Regions from separate parts of the Homo sapiens genome. Here all the other regions are linked to region 1. Evidence: promoter capture Hi-C in human tissues and cell types (Jung and others, 2019). All regions are on one chromosome and are shown on one strand. Each heading gives the region's core, a stretch centred on a gene start or on the middle of the fragment in contact. The rest is flanking DNA. Distances are from core to core; before and after follow the strand shown.

Region 1 (4,369 bases), core at 1,191-3,690:
TTTTGTGGAATAGAAAAGGGGGAAAGGTGGGGAAAAGATTGAGAAATCGGATGGTTGCTGTGTCTGTGTAGAAAGAAGTAGACATGGGAGACTTTTCATTTTGTTCCGTACTAAGAAAAATTCTTCTGCCTTGGGATCCTGTTGATCTGTGACCTTACCCCCAACCCTGTGCTCTCTCAAACATGTGCTGTGTCCACTCAGGGTTAAATGGATTAAGGGCGGTGCAAGATGTGCTTTGTTAAACAGATGCTTGAAGGCAGCATGCCCGTTAAGAGTCATCACCACTCCCTAATCTCAAGTACCCAGGGACACAAACACTGCGGAAGGCCGCAGGGTCCTCTGCCTAGGAAAACCAGAGACCTTTGTTCACTTGTTTATCTGCTGTCCTTCCCTCCACTATTGTCCTATGACCCTGCCAAATCCCCCTCTGCGAGAAACACCCAAGAGTGATCAATTAAAAAAAAAAAAAAAGTGGCCATGCTGGGTGCGGTGGCTCACACCTGTAATCCCAGCACTTTGGGAAACCGAGGCAGGCAGATCAGTTGAGGTCAGGAGTTTGAGACCAGCCTTGCCAACATGGTGAAACCCCATCTCTACCAAAAATACAAAAAAATTCTCCAAGCATGGTGGCGCACACCTGTAATCCCAGCTACTCGGGAAACTGAGGCACGAAAATCACTTGAACCCGGGAGGCAGAGGTTTCAGTGAGCAGAGATTGCACCACTGCACTCCAGCCTGGGTGACAGAGCGAGACCCTGTCTCAAAAAAAAAAAAAAAAAAAAAAGAAGTGCTCTATTTCAGGAGAAACTGGCACTTTCTGAGCCTACTCTCCCCTAATGCCAGCTCTCCTGCTCACCCCACCAGGGTCAGAGCCAACTTTGCCTCCAATTCATAGTCCTTTAAGTAAGAATCCTTTTAATATGCCCTAATGTCCCAACCAAACTAATCTTGAAAGCTTCTATGTAGATACAAAGTGCTCCTGAAATCCCTATCCTCAGAAATGCTTCTGAGCCAAATGGGCTCTGAACCCTAAACAACCGTGTCCATGTATGTGGCAAGAGCTTGTGAAAAACAAAGCTGGGCCAGGCGCAGTGACTCACAACTGTAATCCTAGCACTTTGGGAGGCTGAAGTGGGCAGATCACTTGAGGTCAGGAGTTCAAGACCAGTCTGGCGAACATGGCGAAACCCTGTCTCTACTAAAAATACAAAAAGTAGCCGGGCGCGGTGGCTCACACCTGTAGTCCCAGCTACTCGGGAGGCTGAAGCAGGAGAATCACTTGAATCCAGTTGGCGGAGGTTGCAGTGAGCCCAGATCACGCCACTGTACTCCAGCCTGGGCAACAGAGCGAGACTTGGTAAGAAAGAGAAAGAAAGGAAAGAATGAAGGAAGGAAGGAAGGAAGGAAGGAAGGAAGGAAGGAAGGAAGGAAGGAAGGGAAGGAAGGGAAGGAGTCTCGCTCTGTCACCCAGGCTGGAGTGCAACGGAGCGATCTCGACTCACTGCAAGCTCCGCCTCCCGGGTTCGCGCCATTCTCCTGCCTCAGCCTCCCGAGTAGCTGGGACTACAGGCGCCCGCCACCACGCCCCGCTAATTTTTTGTATTTTTAGTACAGACGGGGTTTCACCGTGTTAGCCAGGATGGTCTCGATCTCCTGACCTCGTGATCCGCCCGCCTCGGCCTCCCAAAGCGCTGGGATTACAGGCGTGAGCCACCGCGCCCGGCTGACCAAAGGTTTCTTGGTCCGCATTCTGCTTCTGTGGAATGAGCCAGGAGCCAGTTAGGCCTGATTTGACATCTGATTTCCGGAGGAAAACCCAGACTCTGCCCTGGGCAACAAACTGAATCCTGAACTTGAGGTCACAGGGCAGGTGTGAGGAGCGGAGAGCAGCAAGAGTGAAAGGGAGGCCTGTGGTCATTCCATACACACAAGAGATCAGTTCCTCCAAGGTCAGGGGACAGAGAGCACAGGGATCCAGCGCCAAGCGCAAGGCCCCCAGAAGAAGCCAGAGAGTCGGGGAGGGGGCGGGGGGGAATCGGTCCCAGCAGGTGGGAAGGATTCTGGGACCAGACCTAAGGGATCATGAGCACAGCTGCTGCAGGCAGACGGGCCCCTGGAGAAGCTGGGGACAAGCTGGAATAGAGACTTCATTGCGGGAAGGGCTGTCAGGGAGGCCTCCTGGGGTGGAAAAGGGTGGTCAGGAGGCTCCTGGAGGCGGCGCGGCCCCGGGGGTCCAACTCACCTGGGGCCCGGCCACCGCGCTCTCGACCGCCGCCTCTGCCCGCGCAGCACGGGCACAGCTCGCCAGCACTGCGAACCCGGATGGGTCGTCGGGCGCGGCCCTCAGCAGAGCTGCCTTCACAGATGTGGTGCCCAGGTCAATGCCGAGGGTGATCGGCCGCGCAGCCATTATCTCCCTGACCCGCGCAGCTCCAGTCTGCAGCCAGCGGCCCCACAAGTCCGCGCTCTTCGCCCAGGGGGGCGGGGCAGGGGCGGGGAGTCGCCTGCCAATCTTTCAGCCACACCCAACATGGAGGCTTCTCGTCTTCCCACTGGCCGGGGAAGGCGAGCTTCCACGCAACCTCTCGGCGGGCCCCGGCTATAGGCGGAGAGGCGGCGGAAGGCGGGACCTAAAGGGGGCCCCGCCCCACGGGCTCTGATTTCCGCCCAATGGAGGGCGGTCTGAGCTTCGCTCACGAAAGGAGCCGGGAGGCGCTGGCGGCTCCAAGAGTCTCTGTGTCCCTGGCAGCGGACCTCATCTTCCCTCACGCCGGAGCCCCGATCTCTGCGCCCCGGCCCGACCCAGCTGCGCTCTGTCCGTCTAAGACGCGCGGAAACTACAACTCCCAGAGCTCATCTCGCCGAGATCCGGCCCCACGAGTCAGGTGGCGGAGGTCAGGTGACAGCGGACCCGCCTCTCCCAAAGTCTAGCCGGGCAGGGGAACGCGGTGCATTCCTGACCGGCACCTGGCGAGGCTCATGCGTCCCGTGAGGGCGGTTCCTCGAGCCTGGGGGCGCTCAGGTGAGAGCGGACGCGGCCTCCCCTGTTTCCCAGGCGGACCCCTTGAGGCACAGCAGGTCAGCGGGGCAGCCTGCCGGGGGTCCAGCGCCCTCAGCCGCGGCGGGCTCCTTTCCCCGCCACCAGTGCTGGCCTCGCGACACGGGACAACCCCCGGGTGGAAGGGCCCGAGCGGTGGTCAGCCGAGGCAGGGGCAGCGGGCTGCCGGGGTGGGTGCCGTTCCCAGCCCCTTACCTTCTGCTCAGTTGCCGCCTGGGTCTCGGTTGGGGAATTTGCAGATTGCTTTGGAGACGCTGAGAGAACCTTTGCGAGAGCGCCGGTTGACGTGCGGAGTGCGGGGCTCCGGGGGACTGAGCAGCACGAGACCCCATCCTCCCCTCCGGGTTTTCACACTGGGCGAAGGGAGGACTCCTGAGCTCTGCCTCTTCCAGTAACATTGAGGATTACTGTGTTTTGTGAGAGCTCGCTAGGCGCCCTAAGCAACAGAGGTAACCACTTTATATCCTTGTTTCTCAACCTCGTTATTCCTACCTACCCCCTTCCCATAAAATTTAATACCACTAGTACGCTGTGTATTTGTTTCTGTGGCCACAAACCATTGTAATAGCTAGATTTCTTCACTACCACCCCAAGCCAATTTTTTTTTTTTTTTTGAGATGGAGTCTGCAGCCTCTGTCACCCAGGCTGGAGTGCAGTGGCGCGATCTCGGCTCACTGCAACCTCCGCCTCCGGGGTTCAAGCGATTCTCCTACCTCAGCCTTCCGAGTAGCTGGGACTACAGGCCTGAGCCACCATGCCCAGCTAATTTTTGTATTTTTAGTAGAGATGGGGATTCACCATGTTGGCCAGGCTGGTCTCGAACTCCTGACCTCAGGTGATGCGCTCACCTCGGCCTCCCAAAGTGCTGGGATGACAGGCGTGAGCCACCGCGCCCAGCCTACCCCCAGCCAATTTTAGTCCCACTTGACAATGCGTGCTTTACATCTCCTCATTTAAGTCCTGTGAGGTAGTTACCACCTCCTTGTTTGGCACCACAAGGTCGCATAAGTAATAAATAGGTCAAGCCTGTCTCCAGTGCACACAGCCCTTGCCACTATTTGTGTACCCTCTCCAAAAGCAGGAGACCCAGGGAGTTCCAGGTCGTAGAACAGAGGACAGGACCAACTCATACCTGGCAGACAGGAGCTGCCACACTAGACCCCTAGCCCCAGGTTGCTCCTGGGAAGGGACTGAATGGGTGAGGAGCCTTCTTGAAACATGTGACATCTGAATGAGGCCTGGACAATAGTTAGAACTTACATAGGAAGGGCACGCCAGACAGAGCCCATTGTCAGGAGATACTTCATTTCT
Region 2 (4,326 bases), core at 1,422-3,921, 850 kb before region 1:
CGTCCTGCTACACTGTGACCTTGGACGAGTCTCTTAACCTCTCTGAGGCTCCAGTTACTTACCAGGAGGGAGACTGTGGTATGGTAAAGATGAAAGGAAGTAAAAAGTATGACTTTTTTTTTTTTTTTTTTTTAGACAGAGATTTGCTCTTGTTGCCCAGGCTGGAGTGCAGTGGTCAGATCTCGGCTCACCGCAACCTCCACCTCCCGGGTTCAAGCGATTCTCCTGCCTCAGCCTCCTGCGTAGCTGGGATTACAGGCATGTGCCACCATGCCTGGCTAATTTTGTATTTTTAGGAGAGACGGGGTTTCACCATGTTGGCCAGGCTGATCTCGAACTCCTGACCTCAGGTGATCCGTCCGCCTCGGCCTCCCACAGTGCTGGGATTACAGGCGTGAGCCACCGCGCCCAGCCTGGAGTTATTCTTTACAGATGAAAAACCTGAGGCAGAGGGAGTTTAAGTGGTTTCCTCACAGCTACATTTAATGTCAGGACTGGGGCTGGAATCCGTGTGTTCTGACACCAGGTGGTGGTTGCTTATCTTTTGCAGGAGGAGGATTTCCCCCTCCCTTCAACCCCTTCCGCCAGAGGGCAACATGGCTGCCATCCTAGAAACAAGCCCAGGAAGACGCTCCCTTTCCTCCTCGCACCACCCAAGCTTGCCTGCAGAGGGCGCAAACGCCCACCTTCTGGCCGGTCCTGGGAGGCGCCAGGTGCCCCGCCTTAGCAGGGGAGGGCGGGAGTGACCCAGCTGGGTGGGTGTGGGCAGAGTTGGCTGTGTGTTCTCCTTTAGTGAGAAGCTCCTTCAGACAGCCCCCACGGTCCAAGCCTTTCTTTTCTTTTTTTTTCTTCAATTTTTTTTTTTTTTAATGTTTTGCGATGGAGTCTCACTCTGTTGCCCAGGCTGGAGTGCAGTGGCGTGGTCTCGGGCTCACTGCACCCTCTGCCTCCCGGATTCAAGCGACTCTCCTGCCCCAGTCTCCTGAGTAGCTGGGATTACAGGCAGGTGCCACCATGCCCGGCTAATTTTTGTAGTGTTTAGTAGAGACGGGGTTTCACCATCTTGGCAGGGCTGGTCTCAAACTCCTGACCTCAAGTGATCCACCCACCTTGGCTTCCCAAACTGCTGGGATTACAGGCGTGAGCCATCGCTCCCAGCCTTTTTTTTTTTTTTTTTTTTTTTGAGATGGAGTCTCGCTCTGTCCCCAGGCTGGTGCGCAGGGGCGCGATCTCTGCTCACTGCAACCTCCGCTTCCCGGGTTCAAGCCATTCTCCTGCCCCAGCCTCCCAAATAGCTGGGGTTATAGGCGCATGCCACCATACCTGGCTAGTTTTGTAGTTTTTAGTAGAGACAGGGTTTTACCATGTTGGCCAGGCTGGTCTCGAACTCCTGACCTCAAGTGATCCACCCCACCATGGCCTCCAAAGTGCTGGGATTACAGGTGTGAGCCACCATGCCCAGCTTTGGTTTTTTTTTTTTTTTCTTTTTTTTTTTCGAGACAGAGTCTTGCTTTTTGGCCACACTGGAGTGCAGTGGTCTTTACTGCAGCCCCAACCTCCTGGGCTCAAGTGATCCTTCCACATCAGCCTTCTAGGTAGCTGGGAATACAGGTGCACAGCACCATGCCTGGCTAATTTAAAAAAATTTTTGTACAGATGGGGTCTTACTATGTTGCTGGGACTGGTCACAAACTCCTGGGCTCAAGCAATCCCCCTGCCTTGGCCTCCCAAAGTGCTAGGATGACAGGTGTGAGTCACCACACGCTGAGCCTGTTTTTTTGTTTTGTTTTGTTTTTTTTGAGATGGAGTCTTGCTCTGTCGCCCAGGCTGGAGTGCAGTGGCGCCATCTCAGCTCACTGCAAGCTGCCTCTCCCAGGTTCACGCAATTCTCCTGCCTCAGCCTCCCGAGTAGCTGGGAATACAGGCGCATGCCGCCACACCTGGCTAAGTTTTTGTATTTTCAGTAGAGATGGGGTTTCACCATGTTGGCCAGGATGGTTTCAATCTCCTGACCTCGTGATCTGCCCGCCTCGGCCTCCCAAAGTACTGGGATTACAGGCATGAGCCACCGCGCCCAGCCTGTGCCTGTTTTTTAAAACTTGAACTTTTAGCATATCTTCATATATTAACATATATTAAGTGCTACCTCGTTATTTTCAGTGGCTAGATAGTATTCCATTGTACGCTTATTCTGCAATGTAGTTAATCCTCAGTTGATGATCATTTAGATTATTTTTTGAATTTGCTATTATAATGATATGATTAACATCTGTATACATAGATCTTGTCAAGTGGTATGAGTTAACCTGTGCAATAAATTTCTAAAAACAAAATTGTTGGCATAAAGGGTATGTGCACTTAAACAATTTTGATAGAGTGTATTAGTCAGGGCTTTGCAGAGAAATAGAACTAATAGGAAATATATACATATGTATATAGGGGTGTGTGTGTATGTGTGTGTGTGTTTAGATTTATTATGAGGGATTGGTTCATGCAATTTTGTGGGGTTTTTTTGTTTGTTTGCTTTGAGATAGAGACTGGCTCTGTTGCCCAGGCAGGAGTGCAGTGGCACAATCTCAGCTCACTGCAACCTCTACCTCCCTGATTCAAGCAGTTCTCCTGCCTCAGCCTCCTGAGTAGCTGGGATTACAGGTGCCCGCCACCATGCCCAGATTTTTTTTTGTATTTTTAGTAGAGACGTGGGTTTCACCATGTTGATCACACTGGTCTCGAACTCCTGACCTCAAGTGATCCACCTGCCTTGGCCTCCCAAAGTGCTGGGATTACTGAGCCCCAGCCAGGCATGAGCCACTGCACCCCATCAGGTTAATGCAATTTTGGAGGCCGAGAAGTCCCATGATTTGCCGTCTATTAGCTGGGGATCCAGGAAAGCTGGTGGTATGTTCTAGTCCAAGTCCTAAGGCACAAGAACGAGGAGCGTTGATAGCTGAGGGCAGGAGAAGGCGGGTTCTCAGCTCAGGCAGAGAATGAACTCTCCTTTCCTCCACATTTTTCGTCTATTCAAGCTCTCAGTGGATTGGTTGATGCCGGCCCACATTGGTAAAGCGGCATCTTCTTTACTTAGTCTACCAATTCAAAGGCTAATCTCTTCCAGAAACAACTCACAGACATACCCAGAAATAATATTTCAACAGCTATGGAGATATCCCCTAGCCCAGTCAAATTGACACATAAATTTAACCAGCACAGAGATATTGCCCAATAGCTACACATTAATGGGACGCCCGTTTCCTTATACCTTTACACAATTATCAATTTTTTCTTTTTGAGATGGGGTCTGGGCTCTGTCACTCAGGCTGGAGTGCAGTGGCCCAATCATGGCTCTGCTTCCTGGGCTCAAGTGATCCTCCCACCTCAGCCTCCCAAGTAGCTGGGACTACAGGTGCCTGCCATCATGCCCCACTAATTTTTGTATTTTTTGTAGACATGGGGGTTCCACCATGTTGCCCACACTGGTCTCGAACTCCTGAGCTCAGGTGATCCACCCGCCTTGTCCTCCCAAAGTGCTGGGATTACAGGTGTGAGCCACCGTGGCCGGCATTATCAAATTTTTAAAACTTTATCTGATGGGTAAAAGTGATACCTTGTTATTATTTAAAATTTTTAACTGTAGTAAACTTCGTAGCTTCTTTAGTTCAGAGCCATGTGTGGCTAAAACTCTCTTGGCAGATGGACCTTACTGAACAGATAAGAATAAACTGCAATAATTTTGGGAAACTGAGGCGGGCAGATCACCTGAGGTCAGGAGTTCAAGACCAGCCTGGCCAACATGGTGAAACGACTCACAGACAGTCTCTACTAAAAAAAAAAAAAAAAAAAAAAACATTAGCCAGGCATGGTGGCGTGTACTGGTAGTCCTAGCTACTCTGGAGGCTGAGGCAGGAGAATTGCTTGAACCTGGGAGGCAGAGACTGCAGTGAGCCGAGATTGCACCAGTGCACTCCAGCTTGGGCGACAGAGTGAGACTCCATCTGAAAAAAAAAAAAAAAAAAAAAGTAAATAAATAAATTGTGCAATTGTGGTATATGTCTGGGCCCTGCTCTTGGAACTCAGTTTTTACAAGCCCTCCCTTTGCAATCTGCCATCATCTTGCTTTTCAGCACTTGTGCAATGGGAAATTTAGTCTGGACCTTGAGATAGTGCAGGTGGGCAGTGATCTGTGGACTGTAAATCACTATGCAGATGCTAGGTGCTGTTTTTATCTTGACCCTGAGGCGTGAATTCTTCACTAATGTGGGGTTGCTGGCCCTGAATGCCCACTGTGCCCTGTTTCCCTGGAGACCAGCATCTTTCTCCATCATCCTT
Region 3 (4,932 bases), core at 2,016-4,515, 550 kb before region 1:
TGCTTTTCCTCTGGGTAGATACGCAGTAGTGGGATTGCTGGATCAAATGGCAGACATACTTTTAGTTCTTTAAGGAATATCCACACTGTTTTCATAGTGGTTGTACTAGTTTACATTCCCACCAGCAATGTGAAAATATTTCCCTTTTACCACATCCATGCCAACATCTATTATTTTTTGATGTTTTGATCAAGGCCATTCTTGCAGGAGTAAGGTGGTATTATATTGTGGTTTTAATTTGCATTTCCCTTATAATTAGTGATGTTAAGCATTTTTTCATATGTTTGTTGGCCATTTGTATATCCTCTTTTGAGAATTTTCTGTTCATGTCCTTAGCCCACTTTTTGATGGGATTATTATTATTATTTTTTTCTTGTTGATTTGTTTGAGTTCCCAAAGATTCTGGATATTAGTCCTTTGTCAGATGCATAGTTTACAAGATTTTCTCCCACTCTGTGGGTGGTCAGTTTACTCTATTGATTATTTCTTTTGCTGTTGCAGAAGCTTTTAGTTTAAGTCACATCTGTTTATCCTTGTTTTTGTTGCATTTGGTTTTGGGTTGTTGGTCATGAAGTCTTTGCCTAAGCCAATGTCTAGAAGGCTTTTTCCAATGTTGTCTTCTAGATTTTTTACGGTTTCAGGTCTTGTATTTAAGTCCTTGATCCTTCTTGAGTTGATTTTGGTAAGAGATGAGAGATGAGGATCCAGTTTCATTCTCCTGTATGTGGCTAGCCAATTATCCCAGCATCATTTGTTGAATAGGGCTTCCTTTTTCCACTTTATGCTTTTGTTTGCTTTGTCAAAGACCAGTTGGCTCTAAGTATTTGGGCATATTTCTGGGTTCTCTATTCTGTTCCCTTGGTCTATGTGCCTATTTTCTTACCAGTACCATACTGTTTTGGGGACTATGGCCTTCTAGTATAGATTGAAGTCGGGTAATGTAATGCCTCCAGATTTGTTCTTTTTGCTTAGTCTTGCTTTGGCTATGTGGGCTGTTTTTTGGTTCTATACAAATTTTAGGATAGTTTTTTCTAGTTGTGTGAAAAATAATGGTGGTATTTTGATGGGAATTGCATTGAATTTGTAGATTACTTTTGGCAGTATGGTCATTTTCACAGTATTGATTCTATCCATCTGTGAGCATGGGATGTGTTTCCATTTGTGCCTTCTATGATTTCTTTCAACAGTGTTTTGGAGTTTTCCTTGTAGAGGTCTTTCACTTCCTGGATTAGGTGTACTCCTAAGTATTTTAATTTTTTCTAGGTATTGTAAAAGGAGTTGAGTTCTTGATTTCTCAGCTTGGTCACTACTGATGTATAGTAGTGCTACTCATTTGTGTATATTAATTTTATATCCTGAAACTTTACTGAATTCATTTATCAGTTATAGAAACTTTTTGGATGAGTCTGCAGGGTTTCCTATGTATATGATTTTATCATTGGTGAACAGCGACAGTCTGACTTCCTCTTTACTGATTTGGATGACCTTTACTTCTTTCTCTTGTCTGACTGCTCTAAGACTTCCAGTACGATGTAGAATAGAAATGGTGACAGTGAGCATCCTTGTCTTGTTCCACTTCTCAAGGGGAAATGCTTTCAGCTTTTCTCTGTTCAGTATAATATTGGCTATGGGTTTGTCATGGGTGGCTTTTATTACCTTAAGTTATGTCCCTTCTATGCCAATTTTGCTGAGGGTTTTAATCGTAACGGGATGTTGGATGTTTTGTCAAATGCTTTTTCTGCATCTATTGAGATGATCATGTGCTTTTTATTTGAAATTCTGCTTATGTAGTACATCACATTTATTAACTTGTGTATGTTAAGCCATCCCTGCATCCTTGGTATAAAAGCTCCTTGATCATGGTGGATTATCTTTTTGACAAGCCATTAGATTGTTAGCTAGTATTTTGTTGAGGATTTTTGCACCTATGTTTATCAGAGATATTAGTCTGTAGTTTTCTTTTTTTGTGATGTCCTTTCCTTGTTTTGGTATTAGAGTGATACTGGCTTCATAGAATGATTTAGGGAGAATTCCCTCTTTCTCTATCCTGTGTAATAGTGTCAATAGGATTGGTACCAATTCAACTGTGAATCTGTCTGGTCCTGGACTTTATTTTGTTGTCATTTTTTTCATTATCATTTCAATATCGCTGCTTATTGGTCTGTTCAGAGTTTCTATATCTTCCTAGTTTAATCTAGGGGGGTTGTACATTTTCAGGAATTTATCCATCTCCTGTAGGTTTTTCAGCTTGTGTGCATGAAGGTATTCATAGTAGCCTTGAATAATGTTTTGTATTTCTGTGGTATCAGTTGTAATATCTCCCACGTTTTTCTAATTGAGCTTATTTGAATTTTCTCTTATTTTCTTTGTTAATCTTGCCAATGGTCTATCAGTTTTTTTTTACCTTGTCAAAGAACCAGCTTCTTGTTTCATTTATGATTTTTATTTTTATTTTTCAATTTCCTTCAGTTCTCCTCTGATCTTTGTTATTTCTCTTTGTCTGCTGGGTTTGGGTTTGGTTTGTTCTTGTTTCTCTAGTTCCGTGAGGTGTGACCTTAGGTTGTCTATTTGTGCTCTTTTAGAATTCTTAATGTAATAATACTGTGAACTTTTCTCTTAGTACTACTTTTGCTGTATTCCAGAGATTTTGATAGGTTGTGTCCCTATTATCATTCATTTCAAAGAATTTTTAAGTTTTCCTGTTGATTTTGTTGTTGACCCAACAATCATTCAGGAGCAGGTTATTTAATTTCCATGTATTTGGATGGTTTTGTGGGTTCCTTTAGGAGTTGATTTCCAATTTTATTCCAGTGTGGTCTGAGAGAGTACTTGATATAATTTCAATTTTCTTAAATTGATTGAGACTTGTTTTGTGGCCCATGATATGGTCTATCTTTGAGAATGTTTCGTGTGCTGATAAGTAGAATGCATATTCTGCAATTGTTGGGTAGAATGTTCTATAAATATCTGTTAAGTTCATTTGTTCTAGGATATAGTTTAAGTCCATTGTTTCTTTGTTGACTTTCTGTCTTGATGATATGTCTAGTGCTAACAGTGGAGTATGGAATCCCCCACTATTATTGTGCTGTTGTCTATCTCATTTCTTAGGTCTAGTAGTAAATGTTTTATAAATTTGGCAGCTCCAGTGTTAGGTGCATATATATTTAGGATTGTGATGTTTTCCTTTTGTACTAGTCCTGTTATCATTATGTAGTGTCCGTCTTTGTCTTTTTTAACTGTTGTGGGTTTAATGTCTGTTTCGTCTAAGAATAGCTACTCCTGCTTGCTTTGGTGACCATTTGTATGGAATATCTTTTTCTACCTCTTTGCCTTAAGTTTATGTGAGTCCTTATGTGTTAGCTGAGTCTCTTGGGGATGGCAGGTACTAGGTTGGTGAATTCTTATCCATTCTACCATTCTGTATCTTTTAAGTGGAGTGTTTAGGCCATTTACATTCAACATTACTATTGAGATATGAGCTACTATTCTATTTGTCATGCTAATTGATGGCCTGAAGAGCTTGTTTTATTTTTCCATTTTGTTATTGTTTTATAGGTCCTGTGAGATTCATGCCTGAAGGAGGTTCTATTTTGGTGTATGTCAAGGGTTTGATTCAAGATTTAGAGCTCCTTTTACAAGTTCTTGTAGTGCTGGCTTGGTAGTGCCGAATTCTCTCAGCATTTGTTTGTCTGAAAAAGACTATCTCTCCTTCATTTATGAAGCTTAGTTTCATGGGATACAAAATTCTTGGCTGGTAATTGTTTTGTTTAAGGAGGCTAAAGATAGGACCCTAATCCCTTCTAGCTTGTAGGGTTTCTGCTGAGAAATCTGCCATTAACCTGATAGGTTTTTCTTTATACGTTACCTGATGCTTTTGCCTCACAGCTCTTAAGATTCTTCCCTTCATCTTGACTTTGGATAACCTGATGTCTATGTGCCTAGGTGATGATCTTTTTGTGATGAATTTCCCAGTTGTTCTTTCAGCTTCTTGCATTTGGATGTCTAAATGTCTCACAAGGCCAGGGAAGCTTTCCTCAATTATTCCCTCAAATATGTTTTCAAAACTTTCAGATTCCTCTTCTTCCTTGGGAACACCAGTCATTCTTAGGTTTGGCCATTTTACATAATCACAATCTTCTTGGAGGCTTTGTTCATTTTTTAAAATTCTGTTTTCTTTGTCTTTGATGGGTTGGGCTTTTGAAAGCCTTGTCTTTGAACTCTGAAGTTCTTTCTGCTACTTGTTTGTTTCTATTGCTGGGACTTTCCAGTGCATTTTACATCTCTCTAAATATGTCTTTCATTTCCAGAAGTTGTGATTGTTTTTTATTTATGCTATCTATTTCACTGAAGATTTTTGCTTTCATATCCTTCATATCCTGTATCTTTTTTAGCAGGAAGAGCTGCAGACCAAACTCCTCAGACACCAAGTTAAAGAAGGAAGGGGTTTATTTGGCCAGGAGCATCGGCAAGACTCCTGTCTCAAGAGCTGAGCTCCCCCAGTGAGCAATTCCTGTCCCTTTTAAGGGCTCACAACTCTAAGGGGGTCTGCGTGAGAGAGTCATGATCAATTGAGCAAGCAGGGGGTACGTGACTGGGGGCTGCATGCACCAGTAATCAGAACAAAACAGAACAGGACAGGGATTTTTACAATGCTTTTCCATACAATGTCTGTAATCTATAGATAACATAACCAGTTAGGTCAGGGGTCGATCTTTAACTACCAGGCCCAGGGCGTGGTGACAGGCTGTCTGCCTTTAGATTTCATTTCTGCCTTTTAGTTTTTACTTCTTTCTTTGGAGGCAGAAATTGGGCATAAGACAATATGAGGGGTGGTCTCCACCCTTACTTTTTTTTTTTTTAATTTAAGTTGAACTTCACCTTTCTCGGGCACCTCCTTGATTAGCTTAATACTCAACTTTCTGAATTCTTTTT
Region 4 (4,427 bases), core at 1,586-4,085, 610 kb before region 1:
AGTCTCAAAAAAAGTGCATTGAGGACACGGCCATCCCATCCCCAACAGCCAGCACAGGGAGCACTGTGGGCACTGTCCATGGTCTTTGTTACACTAAAGGAGAAGGATATTGTTGGCTGAGAGTACCCCTTGCTTCCCAGCTCCCAGGGCAGCCTCCTCATGTGGGACCAGGAGCTCGTATTCTAGTCTATATGAAGGATGGCCCCCCGGGACTTCCCAGGAGTCCATGTGTATTGGGTGGTTCCTGCGGTGGGGGCGGATGTCATAGACTCTGCCATATTCCCTGCTCCATTCCCCACGGGGCCCTCTCTTGACCCACAACTCCGCCAGGTGTGATGGCCAGCTTGGGTGAGAGAGATCTGGGCTAGAGGCCGTCAAGCCAGGACTCCTGCTTGGCAGCTCTGGACTTCACCATGAACCTAGAATAGTCCCTGTTGTAGGGACCGGGAAACCCTGTAGTATGCCGCCATCTCTGGGGGGCTCAGGTGGGAAAGGACATCCAGGCAGTGATGCCAGGCGGGGGCGCTCTGACCCCACTGCCCCTCACCGTGCCGAGAGAGGCTCTGCCTGGGGCCGTGGATGGGGTGGGGGTTGAGGGCTGTCTCCGCGGCCTCACTCCTCATTTCCATTCCCTCAGTGACAGCACATCCAGCACACCCAAGACCCCAGATGGTGGACACTCCTCTCAGGAGATAAAGTCTGAGACCTCATCCAATCCCAGCTCTCCGGAAATCTGCCCCAACAAGGAGAAGTAAGAGAGTGAGGGTGGGAAAGGCCAGCTTCGGCCACGTGGAGCCCTGGAACACGCCCTCTGCCTCCTGGCCAGCTGAGAGTGGCCATCTCCTGCCTCTGGAACTCTCCAGAACACAAAGGCCGACGGGTGGGGGCGTGGGGAGCCGCCAGAGGTCCCGGGGAGGACCCTGGGGGTGGAGGGCTCTCGCGTGTGACCCGGGCTGGCCTCACTTCCTATTCCCTGCAGGCCCTTCATGAAGTTGAAGGAAAACGGCCGTGCCATCTCCCGCTCCTCCTCCAGCACCAGCAGCGTCAGCAGCACTGCAGGGGAGGGCGAGGCCATGGAGGAGGGCGACAGTGGGGTAGGTGTGCCCCGTCCACCCTTGGGCAGGCACTCTGGGGCGTCAGCCAGCCACCCTCCTTGCATTAAAACGGCACTGTGGATCGAAGCCCATGTCAGTCTTTGCAGAGGAAAGGGGAAGAATGGAAACGAGAGGTGGGCTCGTTGGCCATCACCACCCCCTGGGCGCAGTGGGTGAGGGGACCTCTCTCTCAGAGTGACATAGCAGCAGCAGAGGGCAGGGGCCAGACCCGATGGTGCCCTGCCTTGGGGTTCCTGGCTGGAGTGGTGAGTGGCCAGTGCCCCAGGGGGCTGGGTCAAAGGTCCTTCTTGGAGCAGGATAGCTTGGAACCAGGGTTGAAGTCAGCAGGAAAGAAAGAGCAGGCCCAAGTGGGGAGCAGGAGGCAGCGGCTGTCCTGGGCTTTTGGGGGCTGCCTCAGGCCTGCGTGGGCGCAGCTGCCGAGGGTGGGCTGGCCTCGCTCACCCTGCCTCTCTCCTCAGGGCAGCCAGCCGTCCACGACCTCACCCTTCAAGCAGGAGGTGTTTGTCTACAGCCCGTCCCCGAGCAGCGAGAGCCCCAGCCTGGGGGCAGCTGCCACCCCGATCATCATGAGCCGGAGTCCCACAGGTCAGTGGCATCTGGTGGTGTGTGTGACGTCACCAGGAGGGCAGGCTGTGCCCTGTCCACTGTTAGCAGGGCCCCAGCCACGCTGAACTGGCCAGTTTTCACCCCTCCTCCCAGCTGTGAGGCCCTCCGCTCTGTGCGCCCGCCTCTTCTGTTCATCAGCCTTAAGATGCCCAAGTTCCTAAGCTCTTCTTACACTGAGAGTTGTGAAGCTGAGGCAGAGAGTTGAAGGCCTTGTGGGAGATCCCACAGCGGAGGAGTCGGGATTGGCAGTGGGAAAGCTGAGCACTTTCCATTAGCCCTTCTCCCCACCTGCCAGTGCTCCAACCCTTCTCCCCACCTGCCAGCGCTCCAGGGCTGCCAGGGCCCGTCTGTCATGTCGGGGGTCTTGATAATACAAGACGGGGGAAGGGCTGCAGGGGGAGGGAACAGCATGTGGAAAGGCCCAGAGGAGAGGAGAGAGCGGGTATTCCGGAACTGCACGTGTTCATGGCAGCTGGGTTCACAGAGCCAGGCGTCAGAGAGGCCGGAGCGTTGACAGGCTGGGTCAGCCCCGGGCCCCGGGTGAGGATTTTGTTCTGCTAGCGGCCACTGTTGGAGTGTTTGAAGGTTCTTAAGTAGGGAAGCACCATCTGGAGTTGAGAAAGTCCATTTTGGCTGCTGCAGCTGCTGAGTGTAGAATGGATTAGTAGAGAGCAGGAGCAGAGGGGAGGGATGGAGGGGAGGGGAGAGGAGGGGAGGGGAGCTGCGGCAGAAGCACCTCGGTTCAGGAGAGATCAAGGAGGTAAAATGTACGGGCTCAGTAGCAGGGGTTCAGAGAGAGCAGGAGTCTGGGCGTTTTGGGGTTCTGTGATCCCTGCAGTTGGTCAGAATAGGGGGGCCAGCACCTGAGGGCCGTTCAGGTAGACCTGTGCGGTGGGCACTGCTGGGCGGGTGCTCCGGGTCTCTGCCCTCGTGAGGGCAGCACAGGACTTTGAGCCTGGGTCCAAATCCTGGGTCTGCTGCTTACTAGACATGTCATTGGGCGAGTCACCAAGCCTGTCTGTGCCTCAGTTTCTCCAAGCAGAAAATGAAGGGAGGGGAAGAGTCGTGTCTGCCTCAGAGGGTTGGTTGTATGAAGATGAAAGGAGCTCATGCTTGTACGAGGCCTGGAACTGTTAACCTCGGTGTTGGTTAAAGAATGGGAATGAGACAATAGTGTAGTCAGCGGTTCTGAGCCGGGGGCAGTCTTGCTACCCCATGGATGTCTGGCAATGTCTGGCGACATTTTTAATTTTCACAATTTTGGAGGGGTGCTACTGGCATCTAGTGGGCAGAGGTCACGGAAGCTGATAAGCAATGTACAGGACAGCCCCCTAGCCACATCAGACAAATAATTCTCTGACCCCAAATGACATTCGGTTGAAAAACTCTAGTCTCAATGGTAGAAACACAGGAAGGGCCAACAGGCCTTCAGGGTGGCTGAAGCCAAAATGTTCCTGGGGTTCACACAGCGAAGGGATGTTGCAAAGGGAACCTGCAGGGTCAGAGATGAAGGGAAGATCGTGATTCCACAGCCAGTGACCCTTTGCATGCGTGTTTCTCAGTGAGTGGAAGAGTTCACGTGCCTCCTCTCATTCAGCCCCCTGTGGTTGGGCAGCTGCGGAGCTGGGTTCAAATCCTGGTTGTAGCATTGACAGGTCCACGTCTCTGAGCCTCAGTTTCCTCATCTGTAAAAGGGGGTGGAAATACAAATTCCCTGATTTTTTTTCGAGATGGAGTCTCACTCTGCCACCCAGGCTGGAGTGCAATGGCGCAATCTCGGCTCACTGCAACCTCCGCCTCCCAGGTTCAAGTGATTCACCTGCCTCAGCCTTCCAAGTAGCTGGGATTACAGGCATGTGCCACATGCCCGGCTAATTTTTTTATTTTTAGTAGAGACACAGTTTCACCATGTTGGCCAGGCTGGTCTCGAACTCCTGACCTCGTGATCCACCCACCTCGGCCTCCCAAAGTGCTGGGATTACAGGCGTGAGCCACCGCGCCTGACCTGGTGTTTTTGTTTTGTTTTGTTTTGTTTTCTAAATAAGACTTAAATATTGAAGGAATGAATGAAAGAATCTGTAAGCAAGCCTGGCCCCCACTTGGTGTTAAATAAACGTCAAAGTAAGGAAGGTTTTGAGTAAAGGAATTAGAGAGTCTCTGCAGGTTGCTGAAGGTCACCGAGGGCGGAAGGGACCTGGAGCGGGTCTGGTGACTTATGGCCGGTGCTTCCCACACCACACGGTGAGGCTGCCTCTTACACACCTTTTCTCCACACAGTATTTAACCCCGATGGGCTGCTTTTCACCCCCAGCCCACGAAAGATGTGCTTGGTACCCACTGGATCAGGGTGGGCTTGGGGGGATCTGGGAACCGGTTTCATGCTGTTTGGCTGAGTCTGGGGAGAGGCAGGGTGGAGTGGGGAGAGGTGGCCTGACGTCCTGACGTACAGTCTCCATAATGTCAGATATCTGATCATGGTCATTTCCTACCTGGGCTTCCTGGGGCACAGAAGAGGACTGATAGGTTACACAGAGGTGTTGTAGCCCTGGGTGGAACTCCTCGATTCGAAGCACCACGAACCAGCCAGCAGCTTCCAGGAAGGCTGCACTAAGCTTTCCATACCCTCGGCCAGAGGACAGCCAGAAAGTCAAGTGGCCCTCCTGCCAGCGGGGCACAGCGGGAAATGTTGACACCGGGCTCTGCCAC
Region 5 (4,588 bases), core at 1,766-4,265, 920 kb before region 1:
TCCCACTGACCCACTCCCACTCAGCGCAGCCCACCCACCCCCTCCCGAGGGGCCCGGCAGCACCCACAGGTAGGCTGCACCTGCCTCCTCGTCCAGGCCTCAGCCTCTACTCGGGGGGGGGGGAGCAGAACTATCCCAGTCACAGCACTCCCCAAGGCCTCTACACCCTTGGGCCAATACTCCCTCCTCTCATAGTCCAGGAGCACCTCTGAGGATGTGAGCTTTAGGGGAGGGGAAAAGGAGGTCTTCTGCAGAGCGGGAGAGCCGTGCCCCAACAGCACTCTGCATACACGCAAACTCAGATGCTAGTGAAGAGACAAAGCACACCCTTGCCCCGGCCTGGAGGCGCCGGGAGCTCAAAGGCGGCAGAGAGGAGGAACTAGAAAAGAAACTTAGGCCTCCCAGAGGACCTGTGTGCTGCCCAAGCCAGGCACAATCTCACTCAGAAGACTGTGCCAGGGCCAGGCCACGCCCCAGCCAAGGCCTCAGCAAGTGAGGCTCCAGCAGGAAGTAGGGTCCGAAAAGGTGCATCACCCGTCCCGGGAGCCCAGGGCTTCAGGGAAAGGCAATGGGGCGGGCAGGCGGCCTATGGAAGAACCTACAGACCAGGCACCTGTTTGCCTCCTTCCTGTCCCACCCAGGCCAGAGGCAGGCGTTCAGGGCCTGAGGACAGTTCAGAGTTCCTCAGGCTGCTCTCCCCACATCCCATCCAAGATCCTGTTGCGGAGCTCCCATAAGCCCCTAGACTCCTTCCCCAGCTGCCAGCCTCCTCCTCCTCCCCCTCTGGGCCTCAACTCCAGGGAGCCCTCCCCTGGGCAGAAGGAACCTGACGCACCACTGTGGACCTGAAAAACCTGCCTGTTCTCTTAACCCCTAAAAGCCGCTGTATTCCCAGGAAGGTAACCAACCCTTGCCCCCGACCCTCAATGGCCTAGATCAGCTCCTTCCTAAGGGGGCTGAAGAGCCTTCCAGAGCTGGATCTCAGAGGTCAGAAGCCTTGGTTCTGATGCTCAGGTGGGCCCCAGCTGGGGGGTCTTCATTAAGGCTCCTTCCTTCTTTCAATAGATCCGGGCTGGCTGTAACGTAAGTCCTAGCTAGCTGTACTACCTTCCCAGGGACGTAGGAGCCCATGTCCTGCCCACGAGTATGCTCCCAGTTTCCCCAAAACAAATAGCTGTGCCCTTCCCTGACTCAGTTTACCCCCGACAGAGCCCCCCCACCCCCAGCAGAGTTAGGAAGGGGCTTCACTGACTCCCTCACAGAAATCCTCCAACAGACGCTCGTCAGCCCCCTAGTTCTCAGCACGGGATCCAAACCAACACGCCTGTCCCAGCTTCCTCTGGGCCAGGCCACGGCAGCCTTGGCTTGCTGGCCATGAGCTGGAATCCAAACACTTCCCTTAACAGCTAAATCGCTGTGTGACCTTGGGCAAGTCACTTCGACTCTTCGGGTCTCTGCTAGAGGGGAAATCAGCCAACCTCCTCTCATCCAGCCTGCCCCCACTGATTCAGAGCCACATCAGCACAAAGCCTGGTAGGTTGGGGCGATGAGCATCTGCTCTTCTGCCCAAACCTTGGCCTTGTCTAGACAATCAGCAGTACTGCCCCAGCACCTGTCCCTCACCCCAAGGCAACTCCGCTATGATGGGAACAGGGTCAGAGGGCTGAACGCTGTCCCCATCCTGATTCCCAAGTCAGCCCTGGCGCACTCACTGAAGCTAGGAAGGGAGATGATGAGGCGTTAAGACCACAAGTCCCAACTGAGGACAGTCGACGGAGGAGGGAGGGACTGGGGGACAGGAGTAGCTCTGCACCTCCACTGCCACCCAGAGCAAAGAGGGCCTGAGGAAGATGACGACTGAGGGCCTGGGAAGGGGATTCCAGCCCCAAGGCTGGAGTCTGAGACACGGTGGAGGGAACAGAAGGAAGAGAAGGGGCTCAGGAGAAAGGGAAAGCAGGCCCCACCCGAGACAAGCTGCAGCCACTGCCACAGTCACCACCATACAGCCCCCATGGGGGATCGCTGGGAGCTTGACTCCACACTAACGACCTTTGCCTTAAAAACAGCAACTCTGGTCTGACCCACTTTTCGCAATAAGGCAGGTTAATGATCAAGTTCTGGCACAAACACTTCCCCCTGCCAAGGAGTTTGGCTCTGCCCCATGCAAAGGCAGACGCCCCCTACACCAGGTCGGCCGAGCAGGCCAACACACCTGAGAGTCTCCGCCACAGCCTGAAGACCTGCGGTTATAGCCTGGCCTCAGGGCATGAACCAGGGACGCCCCTCACAACGCACACCCCGCACCTCGTGCTCTTCCCACAAACCAAGCCTGGGAAGCCTCGAGCGGAGCTTCACTCCCAGGGCTGCAGCCCTGCGCACAGGGGATGCCTGGGAGGCCGCCGCGGAGCAGGTGCCGAAGGGGGCTGTCCCGCAAACGTCGGAGCGACCCCAGCTCAGAGAGCTCCCATGCTCGGGCGCAGAGGGGGTGGGGCCGCCGATTCTTTCGGTCTGCGGCGGCGGCGCACCCCGAAACCGCGTGTGCGCGCACGTGTCCCCGCGATGAGGCGCGCGTGTGCCCGCCGAGGGTGCCAGCCGAGGCTGCCCTCCACGGGACCGCACGTGCGAAACCCGGGCCGCAGCCGGGGGCGACTGTGAAGGTGACCTTCAGCGCGGGGGCGACCCGGTGAAGGCCCCAGCGAGATACAACCGGGCCCGACGCGGAGGGAAGGCGGCGATCCCCGCGGAGTCCCGAACCCGCCCGCCCTGGTCCGGCGCCCCCCGCCCAGCGGCCCGCTGGCCCTGGCCCCGCTCACCGGCCGCGCCCGGCCGCCCCTTGCCCCCGGCCTGCGAGCCGTGTTCCCGGGCGCTGTCGGCCGGGGCGGCCGCCGGCAACTCGTCCGTCTTGATAACCATGGTGGCGGGAGCGGGCGTCCGCCTCGGCTGTCCGCGCCGCCCGCCGCGCCACTAACCCAAGTGCCCTGCGCGCCGCGGCTGCTGAGGGAAGGACGGAGTCACCGGCCCACGTGGTGCGCGCCGTGGCCTTTGACCCCGCCGCCGTTTCCCTGCCCCACCCTCGCGCCCGGCCCAGCCCACGGCGGCCCGCGAGGGACAAAACGCGCCGCGCCTGGTTCCCCGCCCACGGACGCGGTGACTTTCCAGAACGTCTTAAAGGCAACGCACTCTGACTCAAGGCCCAGGGAGGCTGGGCGCCCTCGCGGGGCGGGGCCTCGGGGAGACTCCCTGCTGCTCGCTGCCCGTCGGGCGGGCACTGTGACCTTGGGTGGAGACTGGTCTGGTTCTGCCATGGCTAATCCTCCCCTCTCCAAGGATCCCCTGTTTTCTCTTGCAGATTTGCTAAATGACCGCGCAGTCTGTCATCTGCGGTGTTCGCGTGACCCTCAGCGCCCTCCCCACCCGGCAGGCCCTTTCCCGCCGAATGGGTGCGGCTGGATTATTGAGGGAGTGGAGGGTCGCTTAGGGCACGGGCACGAGAGGCGAGGGCGAGACGTGGCTAATGGGGATCAAGAGTCAGAATGGACCCGCCAAACTTTGCCCCGAGCCAGAACGGGCTCCCTACCCGCGTCCTCGACCCATGGGTCCTCACCTCCAGGCTGGTGTCCTCATTTTACAGTGGAGGAGGCCGAGACCAAGGTCACACAGAGAGCAAGGGGTAGAGCCGGGTCTGACTCCATCCACAGCCAGGACGCTTTAACTCGTATTTTTCACTTGGCAGGGGCTTGGCGGGGACGGAACGGTGAGGTCAGAGAATGCTGCAGAGGGGACATTGGGACCAGGTCTTGCAGTGAGTTGAAGTGCTCCAGGCAGAGAGCGCCGGTGGGTCTTTCCTGGCCAGGCCGCAGGGGGCCTTTGGGAAGCACCCGAGGCCTATAACCTTCGGAGCGTTTGTCAAGCTCTAATGAGAACTGGAAAGCTTCAGCTTCCCGAGGTGGGCTGGGAGGGCCTTAGGTAGGGCCTCGCACAAATTGCGAAGGAAAGCCGACCTTGTTCTGGAGAGCACGTGGTGAGGAAAGCCAGCGACTTGATGTGAGCATTTAAACGGGAGGAAGGAAGATGAGAACTGGTAAGATTCTTCTCGGCCGGGCGGTGCAGCGGCTCACGCCTGTAATCCTAGCACTTTGGGAGGCCGAAGCCAGGCGGATGACTTGAGTTCAGGATTCGGAAGTTTGAGACCAACCTGGGCAACATTTCAAAACCCCCGTCTCTACAAAAAATATTGTTTAAAAAAAGCCAGGTGTAGTGGCACGCGCCTGTAGTCCCAGCTACTTGGGAGCTGAGCTGGGAGTATCACTCAGGACGGCTCAGATTGAGCCCAGGAGTTCCAAGCTGCAGTGAGCTATGATCGCACCACTGCACTCCTGCCTGGGTGACACAGACACCGTCTCAAAAAAAAAAAAAAAAAAAAAGCCGGGCGCGGTGGCTCACGCCTGTAATTCCAGCACTTTGGGAGGCAGAGGCGGGCGGATCACGAGGTCAGGAATTAGAGACCAGCCTGGCCAAGATGGTGAAACCCCGTCTCTACTAAAAATACAAAAATTAGCTGCGCATGGTGGTGTGCGCCTGTAGTCCC
Region 6 (4,378 bases), core at 550-3,049, 630 kb before region 1:
TCTGTCACCCAGGCTGGAGTGCAGTGGCCCGATCTTGGCTCACTGCAAGCTCTGCCTCCCGGGTTCACACCATACTCCTGCCTCAGCCTCCCGAGTAGCTGGGACTACAGGCGCCCGCCACCACGCCCAGCTAATTTTTTGTATTTTTAGTAGAGATGGGGTTTTGCCATGTTAGCCAGGATGGTCTTGATCTCCTGACCTCGTGATCCGCCTGCCTCGGCCTCCCAAAATGCTGAGATTACAGGCGTGAGCCACTGCGCCTGGCCCAATCAGTCATTTTTAAAGCACCTACTATGTGTCAGGCCCTATTCTGTTCCCTGGGATATGGGGATAAGTGAGACAGTTTCTATCCCTGGAGAGTACACAGGGTAGTCGGGGGGTGGGGCAGGGGGTCATTACTAAATAGATAGTTATAGTACAGTGTGCCAGCACTAGGCTGGGATGGAGGTCAGCACAGCTCAGATAGTGACTGTTTCTGCCTGTAGGGGACAGAGGGTGTGTTCAGGGAAGGCTTCCTGGAGGAGGTGGCTCATGCACAGCTGAATCTTGATATCAGATGAACCTTCTGCCAGGAGGAAAGAGTGGGGAAGGGAGGGCTGATCTGGCATGGTAGACAGCATGAGCAAAGGTCAGGAAGAACCAGAGCCTGACGTCAGGAGGGAGCTCCTGAGGGTTTGCTGTGGCTGAAGGACCCACGGGGGCTGGAATGGTGGAGACTCAGCCGGAGATGTTGGTTGGATCAGATCCAGAAGGGCTTTGAGCTCGGGACGGTGGGCTGCTGGTAAAGCGCTTAGGCAGGAGAGTGAGGGGCTCGATGTGTATGCCAGAGGGATTGCTCTGACAGTGGTGTCATTGAGAACGATGGTGACAAGGACAGGTTGCAGGGCAAGAGGTGCAGGAAGGCGGCCAGTTAGAAGCTATTTACAGGAATGCAGGAGAGATGACAAAGGCTTATACTGTATGGAAGGAAATGGTTTAGGGTCAAGGTTGGGAAGACTTGGTGGACTCCTGGCTGTAAGTGTTGTGGGACGTGGGATTGATTGTAGGGTGACTCTTGGGCCTTTGGCCTGGGCTCTTTGATGACATGGTGGCCAAGTTGTGCCTGCGAAGGCCGGGTTGCTGAAAGGGCCAGTCCTCATCTGTGTGAATAGCGGCCCCTGGCATCCATGTGCATGGCTCTGGACGAACATCTGGATGGAGAGGAGCAGTGGGGAGTTGGGTGCGTGGATGTGGAGCTGGGGCAGAGGGCCGGGCTGGGATTCACTCTTCCTTCTGCTCCTCTACCACCAGGGTGGAGCTGTGGCAGTGGTGGGACGACCCAGGGAGAAGGGCAGGGGGAGTAGAGCAGGAGGCCGAGCACGCAGCCTTCATCTTAGCTGCAGCATTTGTGAGCACGAAGCTCAGCTCAGCAGTAGGTCCACACCGTTGCTGGGCCGGGCTGGGCAGAATGTCAGCCTCCAGGCCAGGTGTCTGGAGCTCACAAGGAGCAGGCACATCTCTGCTCTCAGAGCCAGCTTCTCCATCCCCACCCTCTTCCCTTCTAGGACCGGACCAGGGCTGCCCTCCTGGACAACCTTCACGATGAGCTCCACGCCCACACACAGGCCATGCTGGGACTGGGCCCAGAGGAGGACAAGTTTGAGAATGGAGGCCACGGGGGGTTCCTGGAGTCTTTTAAGGTATGAGCGTCAGAGTGACTGATGGTTGCTGTGGGGTTGGGATTGGGGAAGAAAGGAAGTGGTCCAAGGTCCATGGGATACTGATCCCAGAGCCCAAGGGCCAGCTGGAGGGGTGACAGGAAACGTATGGGTATCCTAGGTGTTTGCAAAGGGCAGGGCCGTTAGGAAGTGTGTGAGGCTGGAGCAGCCAGCAGTTTTCTCAGCAGCCTCCCCATCCTTCCTCTATCTGGGTCATCTCCTCCGGGCCCAGAAGTCTGTTAAGCAGGGACAGGTAAAGAGGTAGCAGTAGGAGAGGAGCTGGAGCAAGCCAGGAACATCGGCGCTTTCACCTGCCTCCTCCTGGGTTGGGGAGCCCAGGGCAGAATGGCAGGAGCGAGGACCACAGCCCTTACGGGTCTTCGTAGCTGCTGTGGGTGCCACAGTGATTCTTCCTAGCCAGCCGGCCGAGCATTGGAAGACCTGGCTGGGCAGGGGCCATGGAACTATAGGCAAGTCCCTTTGGACTTTGCCAAGGGAAAAAAACTAACTAGAAGGAGCTGCTAAAGGAAGCAGTGAGCTCCCTGTCCCTGGAAGTATTCAAGTGGAGCTCGGACGGCCCCCGAGCTGGCGTGTGGTAGAGGTTTTTCATCTTATGCTTGCTGAGTGCTTGTTGGTCCACGCAGCACGTAGACCCAGCATCTGGCTCGAGCCTGGCTGTCAGCCTGTGCAGGTGGCGGAACGGGTCTTGTTATATTCACGAACACACGTGGGGACAGGATGAGAGACGCCACAGGCCTGCTCAGGTCCTTACACCGAGGCAGAGTTAGAGCCTCATTTCAAACGCAGGTCTTCTGATTCTTAGGTCCGTGTGCTGCTGGATTGCCTGTTAGAAGGTGATTTGGAAACTCCCATCTGGGGGCATTATGTGTGGGACTTTATGGGGAATTATGTGTAGGGCTACACCCACCTCTATTAAAACCGCAGCTCTGTGGGATCCTGGGCAGTCTTTCAAGCCTCTTAAGGTGCAGCTTTCTTGTCAACAACATAAGGATAGGAAGCAGGACCCCTGTCAGAGCCATTGTGCGAGTTCATTGATACCATGCCTGGAAAAGTCCAGATTGCCTGGAATATAGTAAATGCTCAAAAATGTCAGCTGTTATTACAGTTGTATAAAGTGAAAGCTTCACACACATTATCCCACCTGGAGATTCACAACTGCCCTCAGTGCCCTGTGAGGAAGGCTATTATTTGGGGTGTAATAATTTTGGTATAATAGTTCATACTCAGTTTTAATAATGATAGGCATAGTATTATATGGGAGGAAACCAAGCCTCAAAGAGACAGAATCATTTGTGGGAGCAGGTGGAGTTGAATCCAGGTCCGCCGGATTCCAAATCCGACACCACCTCCCACTTCCTGACTTTGTTAAGATTCCACCCGCACTAGCCTGGGCCCGGGCAGGCCTGGGGTCAGTCCCCCACTGCCCGGCTGGACCGCAGAGAGCAGGGCACAGCTCTTCCTACCCTAGTTGGGGCCAGCTGCCAAGATGCCTCTTGGGGTTGGGAAAAGGAGCTGAGCTGCTTGTCCAGGCTGGTGGGTGATTCCTGGGGCACCTGTTTCAGTGCTGATGGACAGTGGGAGCCCGGGTGAAATAGGAGAAATTGGGAGATCAAGACGGAAGAGGGATGCAGAAGAAGAGGAACGGGAGGAGAGAGGGCGCCAGGTCAGACAACCCAGCGAGAGAATGGAGAGTGTGAGATGCGGTAAACAGGAAAACGGGCTTGGGTCTGGGGAAGGCAGGAAGGGGGGCACCACATTAAGCCTTCCACAGGCTCTAGACTTCCTTCCAGAGGCTCCACCACACTCCATAGCCCACGTATCAAAACATTCTGCATCCCTCAGTAAATGTAATTTATGCAGAACTATAAGAGGTGAGGCCAGGTGCCGTGCCTCACGCCTGTAATCCCAGCACTTTGGGAGGCCGAGGCAGGCGGATCACGAGGTCAGGAGATCGAGACCATCCTGGCCAACATGGTGAAACCTCGTCTCCACTAAAAATACAAAAATTAGCCGGGCGTGGTGACGTGAGCCTGTAATCCCAGCTACTCAGGAGGCTGAGGCAGGAGAATCACGTGAACCCGGGAGGCGGAGGTTGCAGTGAGCCGAGATCACGCCACTGCACTCCAGCCTGGAGACAGGGCGAGACTGTCTCAAAAAAAAAAAAAAAAAAAAAAAAGAAAAGTTGAGCTGCAGTTGGGGAGCCAACATAATGTTGTATTTTGTAGACATTTAATGAAGCACTTGTTTTGAGTTTTGCAGGTTTCTTGTAGTATTTTGGAGTTAATTGGTTTTTCAGGTTTCAAGTATTTCTATATCCTGGAGATGCTTGTAGGCTGTGGACACTCTGCCCATGGTGCCCAATGGAGGAGGTGGTCCAGCAGCTAAATACAGGTGGCAGGTATAAAGAGAGTGGCCTGAGGCCGCTCTGTCCAGTCCCCCGCCTCTGGCAGGAGTCGCAGTTGATCTGTGCTTGACTCGAGGGGGTCTGACGTATTCCTAGAGGGGCTTACAAGAGAGGAAACACTTTAAGACTTTATCACGACTCATCTTTGATCCAGTGATCCAGGGAATTCTTTTCAATACTAAAACCCTGCAACTGTAGGTTGAAGACAGGCCTGCTTCCAGATTCTGCTCTCACACCTACCTGAGGTAGCACCGTG

The links. Contacts are between HindIII fragments. The study calls those that stand out against the background at their distance.
Region 2: a fragment that was not itself captured here is called in contact with the fragment with the promoter of SHPK in region 1 in 1 of the 25 tissues and cell types used here (spleen).
Region 3: a contact is called between a fragment that was not itself captured here and the fragment with the promoter of SHPK in region 1, in 7 of the 25 tissues and cell types used here (H1 embryonic stem cells, IMR-90 fibroblasts, bladder and 4 more).
Region 4: a contact is called between a fragment that was not itself captured here and the fragment with the promoter of SHPK in region 1, in 1 of the 25 tissues and cell types used here (dorsolateral prefrontal cortex).
Region 5: the fragment with the promoter of CLUH here is called in contact with the fragment with the promoter of SHPK in region 1 in 1 of the 25 tissues and cell types used here (dorsolateral prefrontal cortex).
Region 6: a contact is called between a fragment that was not itself captured here and the fragment with the promoter of SHPK in region 1, in 2 of the 25 tissues and cell types used here (dorsolateral prefrontal cortex and heart right ventricle).

The regions. Positions count from the first base shown.
Region 1 is chr17:3,633,810-3,638,178 of GRCh38, forward strand. SHPK (sedoheptulokinase) reads right to left here and starts at 2,441. Exons shown (of 7, transcript NM_013276.4): 1 at 2,243-2,441. The coding sequence starts at 2,410. It overlaps CTNS (cystinosin, lysosomal cystine transporter), which reads left to right and starts at 2,951. Exons shown (of 12, transcript NM_004937.3): 1 at 2,951-3,022; 2 at 3,298-3,507. RefSeq lists enhancers at 1-858, 2,697-2,946 and silencers at 2,157-2,216, 3,227-3,316. The HindIII fragment of the contact is 13,000 bases long and covers 22-4,369 here.
Region 2 is chr17:2,785,787-2,790,112 of GRCh38, forward strand. It overlaps a transcript of RAP1GAP2 not described here. Among named protein-coding and RNA genes, the nearest start is that of RAP1GAP2, 8.5 kb to the right of the region's middle. The HindIII fragment of the contact is 6,818 bases long and covers 1-4,326 here.
Region 3 is chr17:3,084,044-3,088,975 of GRCh38, forward strand. It overlaps OR1D2 (olfactory receptor family 1 subfamily D member 2), which reads right to left. Exons shown (of 2, transcript NM_002548.3): 2 at 4,441-4,932. Among named protein-coding and RNA genes, the nearest start is that of OR1D2, 18 kb to the right of the region's middle. The HindIII fragment of the contact is 7,207 bases long and covers 1-4,932 here.
Region 4 is chr17:3,025,371-3,029,797 of GRCh38, forward strand. It overlaps RAP1GAP2 (RAP1 GTPase activating protein 2), which reads left to right. Exons shown (of 25, transcript NM_015085.5): 20 at 638-751; 21 at 980-1,094; 22 at 1,574-1,700. Among named protein-coding and RNA genes, the nearest start is that of OR1D5, 36 kb to the right of the region's middle. The HindIII fragment of the contact is 3,985 bases long and covers 844-4,427 here.
Region 5 is chr17:2,708,749-2,713,336 of GRCh38, forward strand. It overlaps CLUH (CLUH binding protein of NUMT mRNA), which reads right to left and starts at 3,016. Exons shown (of 26, transcript NM_001366661.1): 1 at 2,814-3,016. The coding sequence starts at 2,913. LOC105371592 (a long non-coding RNA gene) reads left to right here and starts at 3,561. Exons shown (of 2, transcript NR_136412.1): 1 at 3,561-3,651; 2 at 3,734-4,085. RefSeq lists enhancers at 118-317, 1,575-1,654, 2,489-3,385, 3,386-4,281 and silencers at 2,895-3,014, 3,145-3,324. The HindIII fragment of the contact is 23,363 bases long and covers 1-4,588 here.
Region 6 is chr17:3,006,467-3,010,844 of GRCh38, forward strand. RAP1GAP2 (RAP1 GTPase activating protein 2) reads left to right here. Exons shown (of 25, transcript NM_015085.5): 17 at 1,545-1,679. Among named protein-coding and RNA genes, the nearest start is that of RAP1GAP2-AS1, 43 kb to the left of the region's middle. RefSeq lists an enhancer at 4,313-4,378. The HindIII fragment of the contact is 3,655 bases long and covers 1-3,627 here.